Regions from separate parts of the Homo sapiens genome. Here regions 1, 2, 3, 5, 6 and 7 are each linked to region 4. Evidence: promoter capture Hi-C in 16 types of primary human blood cells and fetal thymus (Javierre and others, 2016). All regions are on one chromosome and are shown on one strand. Each heading gives the region's core, a stretch centred on a gene start or on the middle of the fragment in contact. The rest is flanking DNA. Distances are from core to core; before and after follow the strand shown. Region 1 overlaps PIWIL4 (piwi like RNA-mediated gene silencing 4). Region 2 overlaps SRSF8 (serine and arginine rich splicing factor 8). Region 3 overlaps ANKRD49 (ankyrin repeat domain 49). Region 4 holds the start of CCDC82 (coiled-coil domain containing 82). Region 5 has its middle 2.2 kb from the start of FUT4. Region 6 overlaps PIWIL4-AS1 (PIWIL4 antisense RNA 1). Region 7 has its middle 5.3 kb from the start of KDM4F.

Evidence for each region. The method cuts DNA at HindIII sites, captures the fragments that hold promoters and counts their contacts. A CHiCAGO score of 5 or more calls a contact.
Region 1: a contact is called between a fragment that was not itself captured here and the fragment with the promoter of CCDC82 in region 4, in 1 of 17 cell types (monocytes). The highest score is 5.7, in monocytes.
Region 2: a contact is called between a fragment that was not itself captured here and the fragment with the promoter of CCDC82 in region 4, in 2 of 17 cell types (erythroblasts and fetal thymus). The highest score is 5.6, in erythroblasts.
Region 3: a contact is called between a fragment that was not itself captured here and the fragment with the promoter of CCDC82 in region 4, in 7 of 17 cell types (fetal thymus, naive CD8 T cells, total CD8 T cells and 4 more). The highest score is 16.1, in fetal thymus.
Region 5: a contact is called between a fragment that was not itself captured here and the fragment with the promoter of CCDC82 in region 4, in 1 of 17 cell types (fetal thymus). The highest score is 7.2, in fetal thymus.
Region 6: a fragment that was not itself captured here is called in contact with the fragment with the promoter of CCDC82 in region 4 in 1 of 17 cell types (fetal thymus); the score reaches 6.2 in fetal thymus.
Region 7: a contact is called between a fragment that was not itself captured here and the fragment with the promoter of CCDC82 in region 4, in 1 of 17 cell types (total B cells). The highest score is 6.5, in total B cells.

Annotation. Positions count from the first base shown.
Region 1 is chr11:94,602,724-94,605,423 of GRCh38, reverse strand. PIWIL4 (piwi like RNA-mediated gene silencing 4) reads right to left here. Exons shown (of 20, transcript NM_152431.3): 13 at 1,368-1,440. The region is part of intron 4 of PIWIL4-AS1 (PIWIL4 antisense RNA 1); the gene reads left to right. Among named protein-coding and RNA genes, the nearest start is that of LINC02700, 34 kb to the left of the region's middle. RefSeq lists an enhancer at 2,298-2,517. The HindIII fragment of the contact is 3,104 bases long and covers 1-2,700 here.
Region 2 is chr11:95,071,095-95,073,794 of GRCh38, reverse strand. SRSF8 (serine and arginine rich splicing factor 8) reads right to left here. Exons shown (of 1, transcript NM_032102.4): 1 at 2,570-2,700. Among named protein-coding and RNA genes, the nearest start is that of SRSF8, 5.5 kb to the right of the region's middle. The HindIII fragment of the contact is 5,025 bases long and covers 1-2,700 here.
Region 3 is chr11:94,495,385-94,498,084 of GRCh38, reverse strand. ANKRD49 (ankyrin repeat domain 49) reads right to left here. Exons shown (of 3, transcript NM_017704.3): 2 at 1,134-1,481; 3 at 1-14. The coding sequence starts at 1,391. It also overlaps a transcript of MRE11 not described here. Among named protein-coding and RNA genes, the nearest start is that of ANKRD49, 2.8 kb to the right of the region's middle. The HindIII fragment of the contact is 1,925 bases long and covers 304-2,228 here.
Region 4 is chr11:96,388,662-96,391,361 of GRCh38, reverse strand. It overlaps CCDC82 (coiled-coil domain containing 82), which reads left to right and starts at 1,450. Exons shown (of 10, transcript NM_024725.4): 1 at 1,450-1,518. It overlaps JRKL (JRK like), which reads right to left and starts at 1,349. Exons shown (of 2, transcript NM_001261833.2): 1 at 1,289-1,349; 2 at 1-879. The coding sequence starts at 712. RefSeq lists a silencer at 1,277-1,536. The HindIII fragment of the contact is 1,223 bases long and covers 670-1,892 here.
Region 5 is chr11:94,540,400-94,543,099 of GRCh38, reverse strand. No RefSeq gene overlaps it. Among named protein-coding and RNA genes, the nearest start is that of FUT4, 2.2 kb to the left of the region's middle. The HindIII fragment of the contact is 1,891 bases long and covers 497-2,387 here.
Region 6 is chr11:94,622,475-94,625,174 of GRCh38, reverse strand. All of the region lies in intron 4 of PIWIL4-AS1 (PIWIL4 antisense RNA 1), which reads left to right. Among named protein-coding and RNA genes, the nearest start is that of LINC02700, 14 kb to the left of the region's middle. The HindIII fragment of the contact is 576 bases long and covers 1,028-1,603 here.
Region 7 is chr11:95,053,370-95,056,069 of GRCh38, reverse strand. No RefSeq gene overlaps it. Among named protein-coding and RNA genes, the nearest start is that of KDM4F, 5.3 kb to the right of the region's middle. The HindIII fragment of the contact is 3,470 bases long and covers 1-2,700 here.

The sequences.
Region 1 (2,700 bases), core at 201-2,700, 1.8 Mb after region 4:
ACTCTTGCCAAAAGTGCATAACATGAATTTAATCATGAGGAGACATCAGACAAACCCAAATCGAGGGACGTTATACAAAATAACTAGTCTGTACTCTTCAAAATTGGAAGGTCATCAGAGTCAAGGAAAATTAAAGAGCTGTTCCAGATTGAAGGAGAGACTATAGAGACTGGACAACTAAGTGCAGGACAGTAGAGCCTTTTCCTACAGAGGTGACAATTGAGACAAATGAAGAAAACTGTTTCTTAATTTTGATGATTGTCATATGCTTCTGTAAGATAGAGACCTTGTTTATAGAAAATATGCACTGAAATAGTCAAGGGCACTGGGGCATCATGCCTGTAACTTATGCTCAAATAGTTCAGCAAAAAAGATAGAAAATAATAAAGCAAATATGGTAAAAGGTCAATAATTTGGGATTCTGGGTGAAGGGTATATGAGAGAGTTGTTTGTACTGTTCTTGTCACTTTTCTATAAGTTTGATTTAAGTAAAAAATAAATGCTCTTAGGGTGAGAATTCTCTGTTTCATATAAGATCCTTTAGAGTAAAAGAGAAACTCACTAAAAGAAAAGCAAAGAGATAGCACTTAGCTAGTTCAGTTAGTTTGCATGACATAACAACAAGAATGTTGGATGTTGAACTGAGTGAGCGAGGGAGGTAAGAAGGGTAGATGGAATGGACAGGAAAAGCCCTACAATAGCCTGGGGGTGCTGAGGTCTGGTAGAAGAGTAAACATTCCTGGGAAATAGGAATCGTTGAAAGATTTTTAAGAACAGGGATGTCAATTCTAATTTTTCTGGAATGTTGGGATGTGATGTAATCATGCCTTGGCCCCAAACAGTCTGCAAAGTCAGCTACACACACATGCCCTTTGGGAAATGAGGCAACTGTGGATGTCCCACCAGGTGATGCAGCACCGGAGGAAGTGGTCCTCTCTGAAATGCACAGAAGGTGGCAAGAATTCACAGGAAGCAGGAATTTGGGGCCATAGGTCACTTGGAAAAACCTAACCCTCCAAGAATCCCCTGAAATATAGGGAACACTGGATACCAACATTTATGTGATGAGGTGGGAGTCAGTTTATCTTAAATCTTAAGGAAAAGATGACCCCAATGAGTTGCAAAATATGCAGACACCAATGGCTGTTATAGGGGTAACAAGAAGTACTGTATTTTAAAATTAATATTAGAAATGTGGAAAGGAAATAAAATATTGATTAAAATACTAAGATTAATATTTTCTTCGGTGCTTTGGAGAAATGCATGGCAATTTGCAAATATATCATGGGAGGGTATGTTCAGACTGTAGATATAAAGCAGAACTAAAATTATAGATTAAAGGAGTTCAAAAAGTATCCTGTACTTACCAGCTGAACATCAGGATCAACATATTGCTGTATAGCTCTAACAAATGCAGCTGGATTTTCTTGTACTTTTATGCTACATAAAAAGATTAATTTTGAAGCTATGTAACTTCCTTCTTAGTAGCACATACTTATATGGCATTAGAAATAATACAAATAAATTTTCATAACAAACTAGTAGTTTTAGGAAAAATTATTAGAGAAAATAACCTTTTGAGTCTAAAATTGTTTCTTAAACTACAAAATATGACAAAAACATTTCGCAATAATTTTTACAGTGTAAAAAATGGTTTGGTAGAAAATCAGATCTTCTCAATTGTCCAGAATCCCTATAATCAATAATTCTGTTGTTCAAAATGGGGTTGAAAGTGAACTTTTGAAATCCCAAGTCTCACAGTATCAAATGTCTGAAAGAGTGTTCAAGCTCAACCAGGATTAAGATTTCTGTAAGAGTGAATTGCTATAGGAATCTAAAAATGAATGTTTCAGAAAACATCAGGTTAATGAGACCAAGATATTCAGCTAATTTGCATGATTTAGACAAAAATATCTTTATTTTCCTTAGTGGTTGCTTGTCTGGAGCCTGGAATGTCTAGCCTTAATCAGCGCACAAGTACTTAACAATTATCTGTTCTGTGCTTACATTATGTTAGGGGCCAGCAGCTCCAAAAGTAATTCTCACACACATAGGAATTTGTAAAACTAGTTTCTTTATGTAGAATCAGCCTCTTTTATGTGTATATAAGTGAACTGTCCCAATGCCCAGCGGCTTTTTAAAACTCGCCCAGCAGGTGACAGGACCATCAACCCCATGACTGCAGATACTAACAGACCTATGTGACTGGCTGGCCGAACCGTCTCAGCAACTAGATGGTCCTGACTCATCCAATTCAAACTCTCGCACTCTGACTCTGCTGCACTTACAGTCCACTCCTAAAATCATCAGGTGAATGTTTTAGAAGACAGAAGCTATGCATATAAATCTAACAGGTAAATGGATACTTCATGGAAAAAAGAAGGTTGAAATAAAATACGAGCTTTCAAATAAAACAGGCCAAGGACAGAACATAGCAATGGGCTTGTTCCAGAATTCACATGAGAAAGAGCCTGTGATGTCAGCCCAGGATCTGCGGACTGTGGCTTCTTTCATAATCATTTCCTGCTTTATTAGCTCATGGGTTTAGAGAAAGTAGAGCGGGTGAAACTCAATCCAGGCTATTTATTAACAGATTTGATAAGAGGAGAGTTCTAAACAATGGTGTTAAATGAGACTTTGGGATTAATACTTGTGCTGCTGATGCAATTAATTAGTAACTATGTGTTTAAAGAATAACTC
Region 2 (2,700 bases), core at 45-2,544, 1.3 Mb after region 4:
CAGTGGTTTTCAAACTTTAGTGCATATTAGAATCACCTGGGGAGCTTGTTAAACCAGATTGCTGAGTCCTATCTTAGAGTTTCTAATTTGGTAGGTCTGGGAAGTGAGGCCCTAGAATTGGCCTCACCAATTCTGGAATTTTCTAACACGTTTCCAGGTGATACTGATTCTGCTGTTGCAAGGAGGGGAAGGACACTTTGAGAAACACTGATGTTTCATATCAAGTTCCCACAGGAGAATCACAATGGAGTTTTCTACATCCTTGCTACTTAAAGAATGGTCCATGACCAGCAGCCCTGACAATACCTGGGATTTTATTAAACATGCAGAATCTCAGGCCCCAGACCAAACTCACTGAATTGAAATCTGCATTTTAACATGATCCCCACAGGATTCAAATGTACATTTCTGTTTGAGAACCACTGTTCTGGGTTTCTGAAGCAAATCCATGCTGTATTTAGTAGATAACTCTCCTCTTGAGTAAATGACAGTTCTCCATTGGAAGCTCTTCACTTGCTCTTGGGCCCTGGCAGAGATAAAAAAAACTTGACCATAGGTGAGCATATGACCTGAGCCTCCCATCATGAGCTGGGTGATGACTGACCTAACAAGACACAAAGTGAGTCACACCTGCCAGCTCTCTGCCCTCAAGCAGAAATAAGACTGAAATGACCAAGATGGGACATGTTCTGAAGACACAAGTAAATCACATAAGCAGGTGACTTATAGTCCCCAGTATGCCTGCTCTTGCCACTCTGCTATCCTCTTCCAGTCTTCACATATAGCCTTGTAGGGAATTCTCTGGTAAGCAATTGATTGAGGAAGTAAAATTATCAAGCTCAGTTACAAATGGCTGTGCATAAGTGGCTACAACCATTAGCATGGGTCATGGTGGCATTATAACCTACACAGTATGTCCCTGAGCAATTCTGGAGAAGGGAAAAACCGTTCAAGGGGTAGAACTTTCAGTATCTCATCTTGTTATCCACTTCTCCTGGAAGAGGAACACCAAGAATAGCTAAGCCACTCTTGATGAAGACAAGATGAGAGAACTTGCTTTATTAGATATCAAGGTTTATTATAAAGCTGAAGTAATTAAGACAGTATTAGGTGCAGGCATGGAAAAAACATACTAATAGGGGCCAAGGCGGACAGATCACTTGAGCTCAGGAGTTCAAGACCAGTCTAGGCAACATGGCAAAACCTCATCTCCATAAAAAATACAAAAGTTAGCTGGATGTGGTGGTGTGTGCCTGTAGTCCCAGCTACTTGGGAGGCTGAAGTGAGATGATGACTTGGGCCCAAAAAGTCGAGGCTGCAGTTAGCCAAGATCACACCACTGCACTCCAGCCTGGGCAACAGAGCAAGATTCTGTCTCTCTCTGTCTCTGTCTCTGCCTGTCTCTCTCTCTATATATATAATACATAATTACATTATATATTTATATATTATATATAAGTATACATAATATATATGAAATATAAATAAAATATATTTTAGACTTTATATATATTCTATTTACATAAAATTATATATATGTTATATATTACAGACTATATATCTTTTATATCTTCTATATATATCTACATCTTTATATATGTATATGTATGTGTATACATGTATATATACACATACACAGTATGTATATGTATATGTATATATCTCAATAGAAATAAATAGTGAATCCAGAAGTAAACTTACCCAGTATGGATACTAATATATGGTAGAGGTGGCAGATTGGATAGGAAAGGAGTTTTCAATAAATAGTGCTTTAAAAATTGATATCCAAGTAGGAAAAAAATTATGTTAGATTTTTACCTCACCACATGCACAAAAATCAATTTCAGTTGTGTTAAAGTACTAAATGCTGAAAGACAATACTATACTGAGTATAGGAAATAATATATGAAACTATCTTTACTGCTTCAAATTAGAAAACAAGACATATAAAACACTAACCACAAAATGTTTGAAGAATTTAGCTACATTAGTGTAAAAATAACTCATCAAAAGACATCATAAAGTGAATTAAAAAACAAGCCACAGAATGGGAAAATATATTTATAGGGCATAAAGACAAATAAGATCCAGATACATAGAAAATACCTTTAAATTGTTAAGAAAAGACAGGTGACCCAATAGGAAGGTGGACAAATTATTGAAAAGGCACTTCACAAAGGAGGATATCCAAGTGGCTAAAAAACAAACAAATAAAAAGCTACAACCTTTTGGTAATCAGGGTAAAGAAAATTAAAACCAAATGAAATACCACTATATACCCATCAGATTTGCAAATATTAAAAGGTCTGACGTTAACAAGTGTTAATGAGGATGTGGAGCAAGTAGAATTCTCATCAATTGATGATAATAGTATATATTGGTAGAACTACTTTGGAAAATAGTTGAAAATTATCTAACAAAATTGAATATGTACTTGATCTATAACCCAGAAAATGCACTTTTGGGATTGATACCTGAAATATATATACACGTGTACATCAGGTTTTATGTATAAAAATATTCATTGCTTCCTTATTCAGAATAACTAAAATAGGAAACAACCCAGATGTCCATCAATAGAACAGTAAAAACTGAATTATGATTTATTAATTAGTAAAACACTACACAGCATCAAAAATAAACTCAGCCACATGCAACAATACAGAGAATCTTAAAGACATAGTATTGAGCAAAATAATC
Region 3 (2,700 bases), core at 17-2,516, 1.9 Mb after region 4:
CGCACTGTGGTAAGCTGAGAAGAAAAAAAAGAAATCTTTCAACTCAACTCAAACCAAAACAATAACTAAAACAAAATTGTCTTGTGGTGTTAGATTTAATTAAGTTGAATAAAAACTTACTTGTTAGTAGATGACTTTAAAATGAAAATAATTTAAGATCTCTTTTTGGGGAGGAGAGGACTACTGATTTAAGAATGAACAAGTTAGTGTTAACTACACTTTGTTGCTTCTAAGAATGAGATTCTCTGAATATCAAACCATACATTTACTCCTGGTCCAACTAAGGTTTATTGCATAAAAGCTTCAGTCCAATGAATAACATAGGCTTTCTGTTTAATATTTTATGTGTTATCTGTGAAGAAAACATAACTGCTTGATTTTTCTGTAGGATTATCACACCAATATACACACTGTATGAAACTTTTAAAAATAAAACTTTTAACAGAAGAATAAAGTATTAATAAGGAATTCTAGGGATTCAAGAGCTCAATTCCTTCTCAATACAACCTTAGAAACAACCTTTTAGGTTGTAATTTTCAGTTTGTTCTATGGGCCTCTGGTTAAATGTGGCATGCTCTTGGGTTAAAAAGCTATTTAAAATGCGAGACCCTTTTAGTTATTAGTTTACTAACACAGACATGGGGAAACTTAGTAAAATGAGGTGGAAGTGGCCAAGCAGAGGGAATAGGCTTTTGATGTTCATTCCACTTCGATGATCCTGGGCAAATTAATATTCCTGAATCTCAATTTCTTACTCTATAAAAGAGAAGAATATTACTTATAGGGATACATGATGATTAAATAAAATAATGTAATAAGGTACCTGGTATAGTTAGTTTTTAATAAATGTTAGTTTCCATCCTCTCTTTCCTAAATGATCCTAATGACTTTATATAAATGATTTTAAAATATAGATGATTGCTTGCTATCTTTATAGATAATTATCCTTAAACCCCCAAATAATACCTAGCATGACACTTTGCAGCTTAATATGTGCTTTCATGTACATTGTCTCATTTGGTCCTCACAATCAAGAGATAGGTATGATGGCCATAACAGTAAAGGCAGGTCTTCTGGCTTGAACCCAGTGCTTTTCCTACTGTCACACTTCCCTCTGTAATTTTTTTTTTTACCCGATTTTTTTCAGCAGCCCAAAGAAGCAATCTGCTTGGGTCTTTTTCCATTTTTTTTTCTTGCAATCGATACCACTCTTCATTTTTGTCATCTTGCTCCTCATCTTCATCAGAATTGCCTACCCAAAGACTTTGAGTACCAGTAGGAATAAGGTGTCCATGTGTTTCCAACAATTCAAGTTGGTTAAAGTGTTCAGAAAAATCCAAGGAATTCTCTTGGTCTGGTATTCCATCATCATTTCCTTTTTCTTTTTCCATTTTTTACTACTATTCTAAATAAAAAGCATTTCAAATGCCAGGATATAAATCTTTCTAGAGATGAATTATGACTGCTTTGTTCATCAAGATCTGAAAACACAAATACAAAAGTTATTAGTAAAACAATAATTCAGGCTTTATCAACTGCATAGATAAGTCTTGCAAACATATACAATTAAACCCTGTCTAAACTCTTGTTTTTCTCATGATATCCCTTACATACACTAAATACTGATGCTGACAGAAAACAACAAACTATGATCTAATAGTGGTCTAATGCTTCTTACTTTTGTTGTTTTCTTCTAAGTCAATTATATTATTATAACTATTATTTTTAATCTACTGGTTTAGGTATGATGGTGTTATGCTAACAGTGATGAATGCTTAAAGGTTTTGAAGTATAACTAATACAATGAAGACAGGTGCATTCAAGATTTTTATAAACTAGACACACAGATAATATAGAGCAGAAATAAAAACTTCTAATTCCTAAAAATACTATTTCGAAGAATCAGGGATTCTTGAAGATGGAATAGCCCCCAAAAGGACATCTGTTCCAATCTGTCATCGGTACATATATCTTTATCACAGCATCTACACTAATTATCCTATTTCTACTTTGATAATTTCAGGCCTAGGAAAATTCACTGCTTTAAAAAGTAGTCCTGTTTATTGATAGGCAACTATAGTTCTTAGTTGGGTCCTTGTTTTCAACTGAATTTTGGCTGTCATTCATTCCTTCATTCAACTAATATGAATAGAATGTCTGGTATGTGCCAACTTCTGGGTACTGGGATTCAATAATGAGCAAGATCCATGTCTTCACCTCAGGAAGCTTACTCTAGTGTAGGTGACTGGCAAAGACATCATGTGTCTGGCAAAGACAACATGATAAGTACTACTACAAGACCTTGTCTAGAAACCATGAGTATACAGGAGGTTCATAATTCCCCTAGTCCTAAGGGATTAAAGAAGGCTTCCTGAAGGAACTGATGTTTATTCTGCTAAGCTGCCATATTAATTTTTAAACCAATATCAGCTTAAAGGGTTACACAACATATAAACCTTAATCAATTAAAGAAAAGGAGAATAACCAATAGATAATTTACAAATACGAATTCCCAGCCTCTCAACTCTATTTGTTGAAATATAATCAGTCTTTCAAGGCTCTTCTCTGATGTTATCTCTTTCATTCTTTCTTGATCCTCTCATTTAGATCGCTTTCTGCTTTCTACTTTTTTTGGTGCTACATTTCACCTCTAACTTTGTTCTTGTTTTAGCCCCTTAAAAGATTATAAGCTGAAAGATA
Region 4 (2,700 bases), core at 201-2,700:
TAAAGGAGCGAGGTTTCTTTGCTTTCCCCACAACACAAAGTTTAAGTTTGTGTAAACCTGTTGCATTGGCACAACACATGATTGTGACTCTTTCTTCAATTGATTTGTGCCCAGGGACAGTGCATTTACCTTTGATTACTGAAATCCTAGAAGGCAAGCACTTCCAAAAGAGTCCAGTTTCATCTGCATTGTAGATTTGTTCAGGCTGTAAATTCTCTCGTTCAATAAAATCTCGAAAGTTATTACAAAAATCTTCCACCGCAGTCTCATCTCCATTTAATCTTTCATTTCTAATGTTAATCTCTCTAATGCTGTGCCGCTGCTTAAAACGAGTTAGCCAACCGGCAGAGGGGTTAAAATCACCATCCATTCCCAAAGCATAAAAGAAGAACTCTGCCCTTTTTGCACAAATTGGTCCAGATATGGGATTCCCTTTTGCTCTTTGCTGGTTGAACCATTCCAGCATTGCCCTGTCCAATTCCTCATACATGGATGGCTTCATAGATTTCCTCTTGGCCAAAAGACTTGTGGAATCAGAACTGCTTGCATAAGTTATAATCTTTTCCTTATTTTTTCTTATATCCCGAACTGTTGTTTCACCAATTCCATAAATCACTGCCAGTTGTTTGGAAGAACCTCCGTCTTCAAGTTTCTTTATTATATCAAGCTTATCTTTAATAGTCAACACCACACGCTTCCGTTTCCCTGACATAGCGAGGTTCTGGGACTCACCCCACACTCACAATGTAGCAATCCACAAAATCCTTCCTTCTCTTACACAGGCTCACTTCAACAGTCTTAACACACTCAGTCTTTCATCCTTACCAGCAACCTGGTGGCCCTGATCCCCTCCCGGGCTGGGGTTGGCTGGCAAATAGACTGCAGAAGAAGGTGAAAGAGGAGGAAGTTTGAGAGAACAGGCCTTTCTTTAACTTATACGGGCAGTAGCGGAGGCCCCATGTCACCGCGGATAATCCGGATTAAAAGCATGTGTTTTATTACCCCAGCAGCCGTGAGAAAGACTATACCCCCATTGTGGCCACGAACCTCCTGCACGTCCAGATCCCGGGTAACCGCGCGTCACTAACCCCTGCCACACCCCAAAGTTACGACAGAGAGCCGAAGAGCCTAGGAGTCAAGGACTGGCACCCTTCCTCAGGGGAACGGATATATTAGATTCCTTCCCCAGCAGCAGGGCCCTCCCGCCGCGCAGCCCCAGTTTCCCGCGCCAGCTTTAGCCGGGACAGTCCTCCCAGTCCCTCAAAACCCGCCAGGCCCCTCTCCCCACCTCTCTTGCAACCAGGACCCGCACAGCTCCCTGACTATCGCGCGGCAGTCGCTCCGCCCCTAGCCACGCTCCCGGAAGATGATCCCTCCCGCCGCCTGGCCCCACCCCTCGCCCCACCCAGAGGCGGGACTTCCCTTGGTCCCCGGAAGGGGGGGAGGAGCATCGCTTGTCCTGAGCTGGTTGCCGGGGCAGGGGCGGAGGCGGAGGCAGAGGTGGAGGCGCTTTGAAAGGTGAGAGCGCGAGGGCGGTGCGGGGCTGTCTCCCGGCTGGGACTCGCTCGCGCTCCCGGTGCTAATGGTTTATGAGAGGGGCGGGGGAAGCCGTGCCTCCTCGCGGACTAAGAGAAAAATTCCCGCGGGCGCTCTTTGGGTGGGCCGGAGAACGCCCCTCAGCCCTTTGCGCCTCTAACCCTCCTCAGCTGAGCTGCAGTGGGCGCGGTGCCCGTTATTTCCGCCTTGGGGAGGTGCTTGGAACTGATGTAGGGAGCTCGGTTGGTGATTTCTCGGGTTTCTGGCCTTTCCAGACCCTTGTAATTGTTTTCTCGGTGCAGAGCTCTTTTGGGGTCTGGGGGTTTCCGTCGTCCTGCGCGCGTCATCGCGAAGCTTGGCCTGAGGGTCCGGTTTCCTAGCTACTGTGCCCCTCCCTCCTGGAGGCAGAGTGACGGACTAGTGGGCTAGCGGGCGCTGGGTTCCTGCGTCCCGCCAAAGAGGTTTGTAATCATGAAAGTCACCCTTCCGGGTGTTAATTCCTGAGAGGATCTATTCCACTGTCTACCACTCATTCCTGCTGCATTAACCTTCATTGTTAACGGATTTTAATGAATAATATAGTTATCCCGGATACCATGCTGGCAGGATCCACTTTGCGAAATTGTGGACTGTTGGACTGTGATTCTAAGTGGGGGAAATAGGCTTTCCTCTCTTTATGTTTATTTTCTTATATCCTATTTCTGTCATGTTCTGTCTTGTTTTCCTGCCAATAGAAGAACTATGATAAATTTATTCATAGCAGTGTGATAAGAACTTGATCTTAATCATACACTGTAGCCCTCAAATCGTGTATTATGCTGGCTTGTTTTTGGTGTCCCTAGTAATTTCATCAGATTGTGAGCTCCTTGGGAGCAGAGACCATGTTTATTTGAAATGGTGGCAGCACAGTTCCTAGCAGGTGCTTGCATTTTGGTAGATATTCAATAATTATTTTTCGGCTTATTAATCTTTGCTCTCCAAACTGCCATATAAAAGAAAACATCGAAGAGGAGTGATGTTTTACACCCAAGAATGGATCCCTCCTGGTAGAATTTCAAATAATGACCTGGGGTTCCACTGCCTTTCAAATCTGTAAAGTGTTAACTACCACCTGCATTGTTTATACAGCAAGTAGGTGATTTCTAGAATGAATCTTTTCTTGAG
Region 5 (2,700 bases), core at 193-2,692, 1.8 Mb after region 4:
AGTTTTAGTAGATCACAGCTGTGCATCAGTGGAGTCCCACTGATACTAGGGGAGAAATAGACAGTGCTGGGAATGGGGCAATCCTGCCAGGTGTTTTTGATGTTATGCCTACAGAAAATAAATTTGCGTTAGCCATATGAATTTAAGAATGTTTTCATTAAAAATCAAGTATAGGCCAGGCGCGGTGGCTCACGCCTATACTCCCAGCACTTTGGGAGGCCGAGGCGGGCGGATCCCGAGGTCAGGAGATCGAGACCATCCTGGCTAACACGGTGAAACTCTGTCTCCACTAAAAATAAAAAAAAATTAGCCAGGCTTGGTGGCGGGCGCCTGTAGTCCCAGCTACTCGGGAAGCTGAGGCAGGAGAATGGCGTCAACCCAGGAGGCGGAGCTTGCAGTGAGCCCAGATCGCGCCACTGCACTCCAGCCTGGGCGACAAAGCGAGACTCCGTCTCGGAAAAAAAAAAAAAAAAATCAAGCATTGTGTGTAAAAGCTTCTATAAAAGTGGCTTCCGGGTGGCGCTCTCTGCAGGGCCACAGCCTCAGTTTGGAGACTAGATGGAGGATGTTAGGTGTTCTGGCTAGGCCCATCAACCTAGTAACATTTCCTCCTGCACAGTAAAACCTTTCATAATGCTTCTGGGGTTTTTTGTTTGTTTGAAAAACAGAAATTAGAAATCAAATATTTTATTTGAAATTAGACATTTCAGTGACTTTTTTCCACTCTTACTTTTAATTAAAAGAAAAAGCTATAAATGCACAAATTACTTGTTTAAACGAAATAAAGGAAAAAGTGTATTGGCTTCTCTTTTTATGCAATTCAAGAATCCAGCCATTTATTCACATTCTTCTCCCTCTTCAGTTAAATAAGACATCACAGATAGAGCCTAACATTGTGTCTGGCACGTGGCCGGTAGGCATTTGGGAAATATTACCCTGCTTGATTGCTTCCTTCCACCACTCCCGATTTTCTCTTAAGCCTCCGAATGTTCCAATTAAGCCATCTTTTTACCTGAAGAATGCCCGAGGTCTCATGCATATCAATTTTCTTTGTGCCCTCTTACCTCGGTAGGGTTGAGACCACAAACTGCCCCTACTATACCCTTATTTGATGTGGGAGGAGGGGATACTAGGTAGTAAGGTGTGTCTGGATGAATGGAAACCAGTCGTGACTTCGCAAATTGCTGGTTGAAGGTCATACGTGATCATTGTGCATCTCATACATGCACAAACATTCACAGGGGACTGGATTGTTCTTATTTTAAAAGAGCCATTGGTAGGGTAGAGGAGAAGGAAAGGGAGGAAAGGAGTTATGGGAAATTAATAAATTTACTCACTTGTTCATTTAACAAATTGGGAAACAAATGCAAAACACGGTTTCTACCTTCAAAAATCTACGAGAGAAACAGATAGTGGGGAGGGAAGGGATCATGGAAGGCTTTGAGGAGGTGGCTCCTGGAATAATTAGGAATCATTACAATGCAGAGGAAGAGGGCTGAGGTGTTAGTTGCCACAGAGGGAGCAGCACTGCAGAGGCCAGGGAGGGAAGACTGGGGCAGTAGGCGAGGAATTACTAGGGTATAGTTTGGCGAAGGAGATGGTGTTTATCCTGCAGGCTGTCGAGAAAGTCCTTGGAAGGCTTTAACAAAGGAAGGAAGCGATATTCATTTTTAAAATGAATTCTTATTTTTATTACGTATAAGGAGGGTGAGTATATGGATGGGGACACGGGGGGGCTGCGGAATGCTGACTGTTAATGTAGGCTCTGGTTAATGGGTGTGTTTGGTTATGGAAGTTCATCAAACTGTATGCTTACATATGTACTTTTATGGGTGGACATTATACTTTAGAAAAAAGTTTCTAAGAAAAAATCATTCTGTCATTAGTAAAGAGTGAGTTGGGTAAAAATAGGGTAAGAGTAGGGGTGTGGTGGTGTGCAGTTGGAAAGTTATTGCTGTAATTCAGATGTGAAATAAAGAGGGCCTGAACTGAGACAGTAGCTGTGAGGATGAGGAAGAAAATTAAAGGAGGATAGATTCAGAGAGATTTAGGAGGCTGGTTTCTTTCTCTGGGAAGCCTTTCTGGATACCCACAAACATATATCCAGGGTAGTTTACATGGCCCTCCTGTGCACTCTCACACATGCTGCACCTTTCAGAACATCATGGGACATCCAGAGATCATGACTGTTTCATTCATAATTCCATCCTGAACACCCACCACGGAACCAGGTTTCTAGTAGTGAATATTTGTTGAATGAATGTATGCCCTTAATGTATCACCGAAATTATCTGTTGGTATCTCTTTCCCCACTACAAAATGAGAAGACATCCGGAGATCTTGGCTATGTGAATGACTTGCTATGACCTTGAAATGTCCCTTAAGCTTTCAGTGGAAAATATTGTACATGTATTAAGCATAGTCCTGGCAACAGGCATCAGAAATGATATCAAATTAGACTGCTGTCATTGGCCAAACCTGGGATGAGTGCTCATTCTTGAAGCAATCACTGTGGTCAGGGAATGGGTACTCTCTTTAGACCCTCCTCTGGAGCTAGAATCAGTCCCATCTGAATAACAGATGTGGAATAATCTGTTATTCTTGAATAACAGTGCGGGGAGAGAAGTTACCCAAAAGAAAAAATGAGGTGGTGTTACCTGAAAAAGAGGGAAAGGATGCTAGGTGGGCAAAAACATGTCT
Region 6 (2,700 bases), core at 66-2,565, 1.8 Mb after region 4:
GAGTCATTTAATAGGGAAGAAAGTTGTGTCAGTTTGGGTCCCTTAAGAAGCACACACCAAGACAGAATTAAGCATTCAGAAGATTTACTGGGAGAAACACCTGTGAAGAATACTGGTGAGAGGAAGTAGGAGTGACTAGGGAGGGCCTTAAGACCTCAGTGCTAATCTGAAATACATGAAACGGAGTGGGAAGGAAAGAGGATCAGTAGAAAAAGCTCAAAACTTTAGTGCAGTTCTTAGAAAACCTTGGTCAAGACAAAGTGGGTTCCCCTACTGTGTTAAGTCTATTCTCACACTGCTGTAAAGAACTACCTGAGACTGGGTAATTTATGAAGAAAAAGAAAAGAGATTTAATTGACTCACAGTTCCACAGGCTGTGCAGGAGGCATGGCTGGGGAGGCCTCAAAAAACTTACAATCATGGCAGAAGGCCAAAAAGGGAGCAAGGACATCTTCACATGGCAGCAGGAGAGAGAGAGAGAGAGAAGGGGGAAGTGCTACACATTTTCAAACAACGAGATATGGTAAGAACTCACTCACTATCATGAAAACAGCAAGGGGGCAATCCACCCTCACGGTTTAATCACCTCTCACCAGGCCACTCCTCCAACACATGGGGATTACAATTCAACATAAGCTTTGGGTGGGGACACAGAGCTAAACACAGCATATTACCTATCAGAGACTAATAGTGGAGTCCCATGTTGGGCAGAAACAACCCAGATCTATTACCTCTCCTGTGCTCAGTAATGGGCTAGAATCAGTCTGGGGAGGGTATGGTCTCATCACCCCTGTGGTGGATCCTGAAGCTGTAGCATTTAGAGGCTGTCAGCCAACTATGCTCCTTGCAGAAGGTTCTTTTAAAGGATAATCTGATGGGCCACTCCATGGTGGCCACAGAAATGTATTTAAAGTATACTTTCTTCCAGAGTCTCTCCCTCAGTTCTCAAAATAAAAGAAAAACTACAAAATCCTTTCTATAAAATAGGAACTGGTAGATTGTTTATTTCTAGAGACAATATTAAGCTTTCCCTTAAGTAGAATTGTAGAATTCAGAATCTAGTACAGTGCCTGGCACATAATAGAAACCCATAACTATTTGTTAACTAAATTGTGCCATTTGATTCATTTCCTCTCCTCAGGTCTAATAAGATGATACCCTTTATTAAGGCCAGATACTTCAGATTTGACATTTCTAATCCTTACAATAACTCTACAATGCAGACATTGTTAGACATTTTTACAAGTAGATACACTGAGGCTCAGAGAGGTTAAGTAACTTGCCCAATGTCACACGACTATAAGTGGTGGTTCTAGGATTCAAATCCAGTGCTGCTCTGAAGCCTGGCACAGGCTCCCTTTCCTCTTTGTCCTTGGTAGCCTAAGGAAAACTAATTAATGCATGTGAGAGGTGGCAATCACATAACGTGAAGCTGAAATAGGTCTCATATATTATCTAAACCAGTATTCCTCAGCCCTGGCTGAACATCAGAACCATTTCGAGAACTTTTAAAATATTCGGATGATCAGGCCCCATCTCAGACCATTTAAATCACTATTTTGAGAGGTAGACCCAGGCATCTCTATTTTTTTGTTCTAAAGCTTTTAAACATGGGAACTTCTAATCTTCTCAAGATTAGGCACCACTGGTCTTGTCCAAGCCCTCTCATATTACAGATTGGGTAACTGAGTCCCAGAAAGTGAAGTTATCACATCTGACAACCAAACGTGCTGGAACCAGAGCTCATATGAAGATTTCTTAGTCCCATGTTGCCCTCTAGGAGTTTACCTGAAATTGTTTGTTGAAGCCTATGACACTGCCATGATGAAGGACTCTATTCACACAGCAGTCCTTGTGTGCCCTCTGGTGGGTTAAAGGGGTAAGAAGTCATTTCCTGGGGCAGTACTTAAAAGGGTGGGTGGGCGCTCTGCAGAAGGTTGTATTGCCTAATCAAAATGTTTCGTGTGGATTTATACAAGCTGGCTGGTTAGGTAGTGGGGATTTATATCACCGTTCTACTTTGAAGGAAGAAAACAACAAGATAAACAAAAACAAAACCCACCACCTTGAATTGGATCAGTGCCTTGTCTCCAAAGACTTGCTATATAATGCCATCTTTTTTTTTTTTTTTTTTTTTTCTGAGACAGAGTTTTGCTCTGTCGTCCCAGGCTAGAGTGCAGTGGTGCAATCTCGGCTCACTGCAAGCTCTGCCTCCCGGGTTCACGCCATTCTCCTGCCTCAGCCTCCCGAGTAGCTGGGACTACAGGTGCCCGCCATATAATGCCATCTTTAAATCCCATAAGGCACTACCTCACATTAGTGCTCTGGGAGAAATTTTTTAAATCTTAGAGTATCTTTTATCAAGGGTGTAGACTCTTTTGGTTCATCTTACAGGTTTTGCAAACAAACCTGAGGACAAATTCTAGCTCCACAATTTATTAATCTCATAAACTTCAGTGAGTCACGTGGTATCTTTAATCCCCAGCTTTACCATCTGAAATGGTCATTATAACCTAATTTATACAGTTCTTGTGGAGATTAAATGTGTATATGTAGGCATGGCACTGGCCCTGAAACTTATTAAGTCCCCTCCACCCTCATGCTTCACAAAATGGTTATCCTATTATTGGTAGACCCCTGTTGGGTGCATTTCTACTATGTCTGGACAAAACTCTCAAATAGGAAAAGAATATTTTCAGT
Region 7 (2,700 bases), core at 178-2,677, 1.3 Mb after region 4:
ATCAGACTATCTTGCTCTACAGTTCATATTCTTAATAGATATTTATTGTTTTGTGGAAATTTGGCTTTTATGATTTGTGCTTCCCTCAAATCTGAGATCCATTCAATAAAAAAATTTAACCTACCAGGAAAAGGACCTGTACATTTTCTGACTTTCAAAAATATTTCAAATTTTATTGCATGATAATTCAGAATGTTTGAATTTTTTTCATTTTGTTTAAAGAAGATATTGATATTTTCTATTCACACTGATATATTGTCAAATTTTGTGATTGATTCTTTGGCAGGATAGGTTGTCAAGGACCTGACATATACTTGGGATGCAGTGACCGTGGTGACCATAGAGCCAATACAATAAGCCTTAGCAGTCATATTGTAACCGAGCTCACTCAAGCAAAGCTATCTTTAGTAGGGACTTTCCCTTCCAGAGAGCATGCACATTTTGATTTTACCTGTCCTCAAACTGATCTTTTGCTCATTACAATAGTAAAAAACACACCCATGGGTGGAGATTTAAGATGCTAATGAGACATGGGATGTATGAATAAGCATGTACAGCTACTGTACATGTACAGAAGACCATCAGGACCTGCTTACTAGTAACACCTGTTACCACCTCCTTATGAATAACCATGTAAAACTCCCATAATGGGGGTTTCTCCAGCAATAATCAATGCTGTCTCACCCTAACAAGCAGCCCTCCCTGAATTCCTTCACTCTCAGTGTGTACAGTCTATTCTGCACTTAACTTTCAAAATATTATTTTTCTTTCACAATAAATTACTCTATGCTGTTCTTCTTTTGCTGTATGTCTCTTGTTTAATTTATTTTAAACTAAGAAGAACCAGAGGTATCACAACAGCTGTCAACAGCACCTGAAGAGAGGAAGTATTTTCTATCATCTGGTTTGTCAATTCTACCTTATTGTTAATGTTATCTAAGTTTTTCATATCCTTAGGTTTCTCTATTTTTTCTGGCTTGGATGAATAAGGTGTCTATATTAGTTCATTCTCACTTTGCTATAAAGAATATACCCAGGTAATTTATAAAGAAAAGAGGTTTAATTGGCTCACAGGTCTGTGGACTGTACAGGAAGCATAGCAGTGTCTGGTTTGGGGGAGGACTCAGGAAACCTACAATCATGATGGAAGGCAAAGGGGAAGTAGGCACATCTTTCATGGTGGGAGCAGGAGGAAGGCCGGCGGGAGGTGTTACACACTTTTAAACAACAAGATCTTGTGAGAACTCTATCACAAGAACAGCACTAGGGGGATGGTGCTGAACCATTCATGAGAAACCACCGCTACAAGCAAATCACCTCCCACCAGAGCCCACCTCCAAAACTGAGGATTTCAATTCTATGTGAGATTTGAGTGGGGACACAGACCCAAACCATATCAATCCTCCCCTGGCCCCCTCCTAAATCTCATGCCCTTCTCACATTGCAACATATAATCATGCCTTCTCAAATGTTCCCCAAAGTCTTAACTCATTTCAGCATTAACGGAAATGTCCAAAGTCCAAAGTCTCATCTGAGACAAGGCAAATCCCTTCTGACTATAAGCCTGTAAAATCAAAAACAAGTTAATTACTTCCAAGATAGAGTGGGGGTACAGGCATTGGGTAAAGACTCCTGTTCCAAAAGGGAGAAATCGGCCAAAAGAAAGAAGCTAGAGACCCCAAGCAAGTCTGAAACCTAGCAGGGCAGACATTAAATCTTATACTTCCAAAATAGGCTCCTTGGACTCCACGTCTCATATCCAGAGCACAATAGTGCATGGTGTGTACTCCCAAGGACTTGCATAGCTGTGCTCCTGTGTCTTTGCAGGGTTCAGCCCCTGCAGCTGCCCTCATGGGCTTGTGTTAAGTGCCTGCAGCTTTTCCAGAAGTAGGGTGGAAACTGCTGGTTGGTCTACCATTCAGGGATCTGGAGGAAAGTGATCCTTTTCTCACAACTCTGCTAGGCAGTACCCAGTGGGGACTCCGTGTGGGGGTTCCAACCTCACATTTCTGCTCTGTACCGCTATAGTGGAGGTTCTCTGTGAGACCCTTGCCCCTGCAGCAGACTCCTGCCTGCACATGCAGGCTTTTCCATACATCCTCTGAAATCTAAGCAGAAGCTCTCAACCCTCAATTCTAGCATTCTGTGCACCCTTGAACTTAACACCACGTGGAAGCCTCCAAGGCTTATGGCTTTCACACTCTGAAGAAATGGTCTGAGCTCTACCTGGGCCCCTTGAGCCACAGCTAGAGCTGGAGCAACTGGGATGCAGGCAGCAGTGTCCACAGGCTGTACAGGACAGCAGGGCTCTAAGCATGGTCCACAAAACCATTCTGTCCTCCTAGACATCCAGGCTTGTGATGGGAAGCATTGCCACGAAGGTCTCTGATATGCCTTCAAGATGTTTTTCTTAATATTTTGGCTACTAATACTTGTCTTCCTTTTAGTGATGTACATTTCTGCAGCCAGCTTGAATTCTTCCCCTAAAAATGTGCTTTTCTCTTCTGCTACATGGCCAGGCTGCAAATTCCTTGAACTTTTACATTTTGCTGCCCTTTTGTACTCTGCTTCACTGGAACTGGATATAAGTTCCACTTTCAGGTCATTTCTTTGTTCATGAATGTGAGCCTAGGCTGTTAGAAGCAGACAGGCCAGATCTTAAACTCTTTGCTGCTTAAAAATTCCTTCTGCCAGATACCC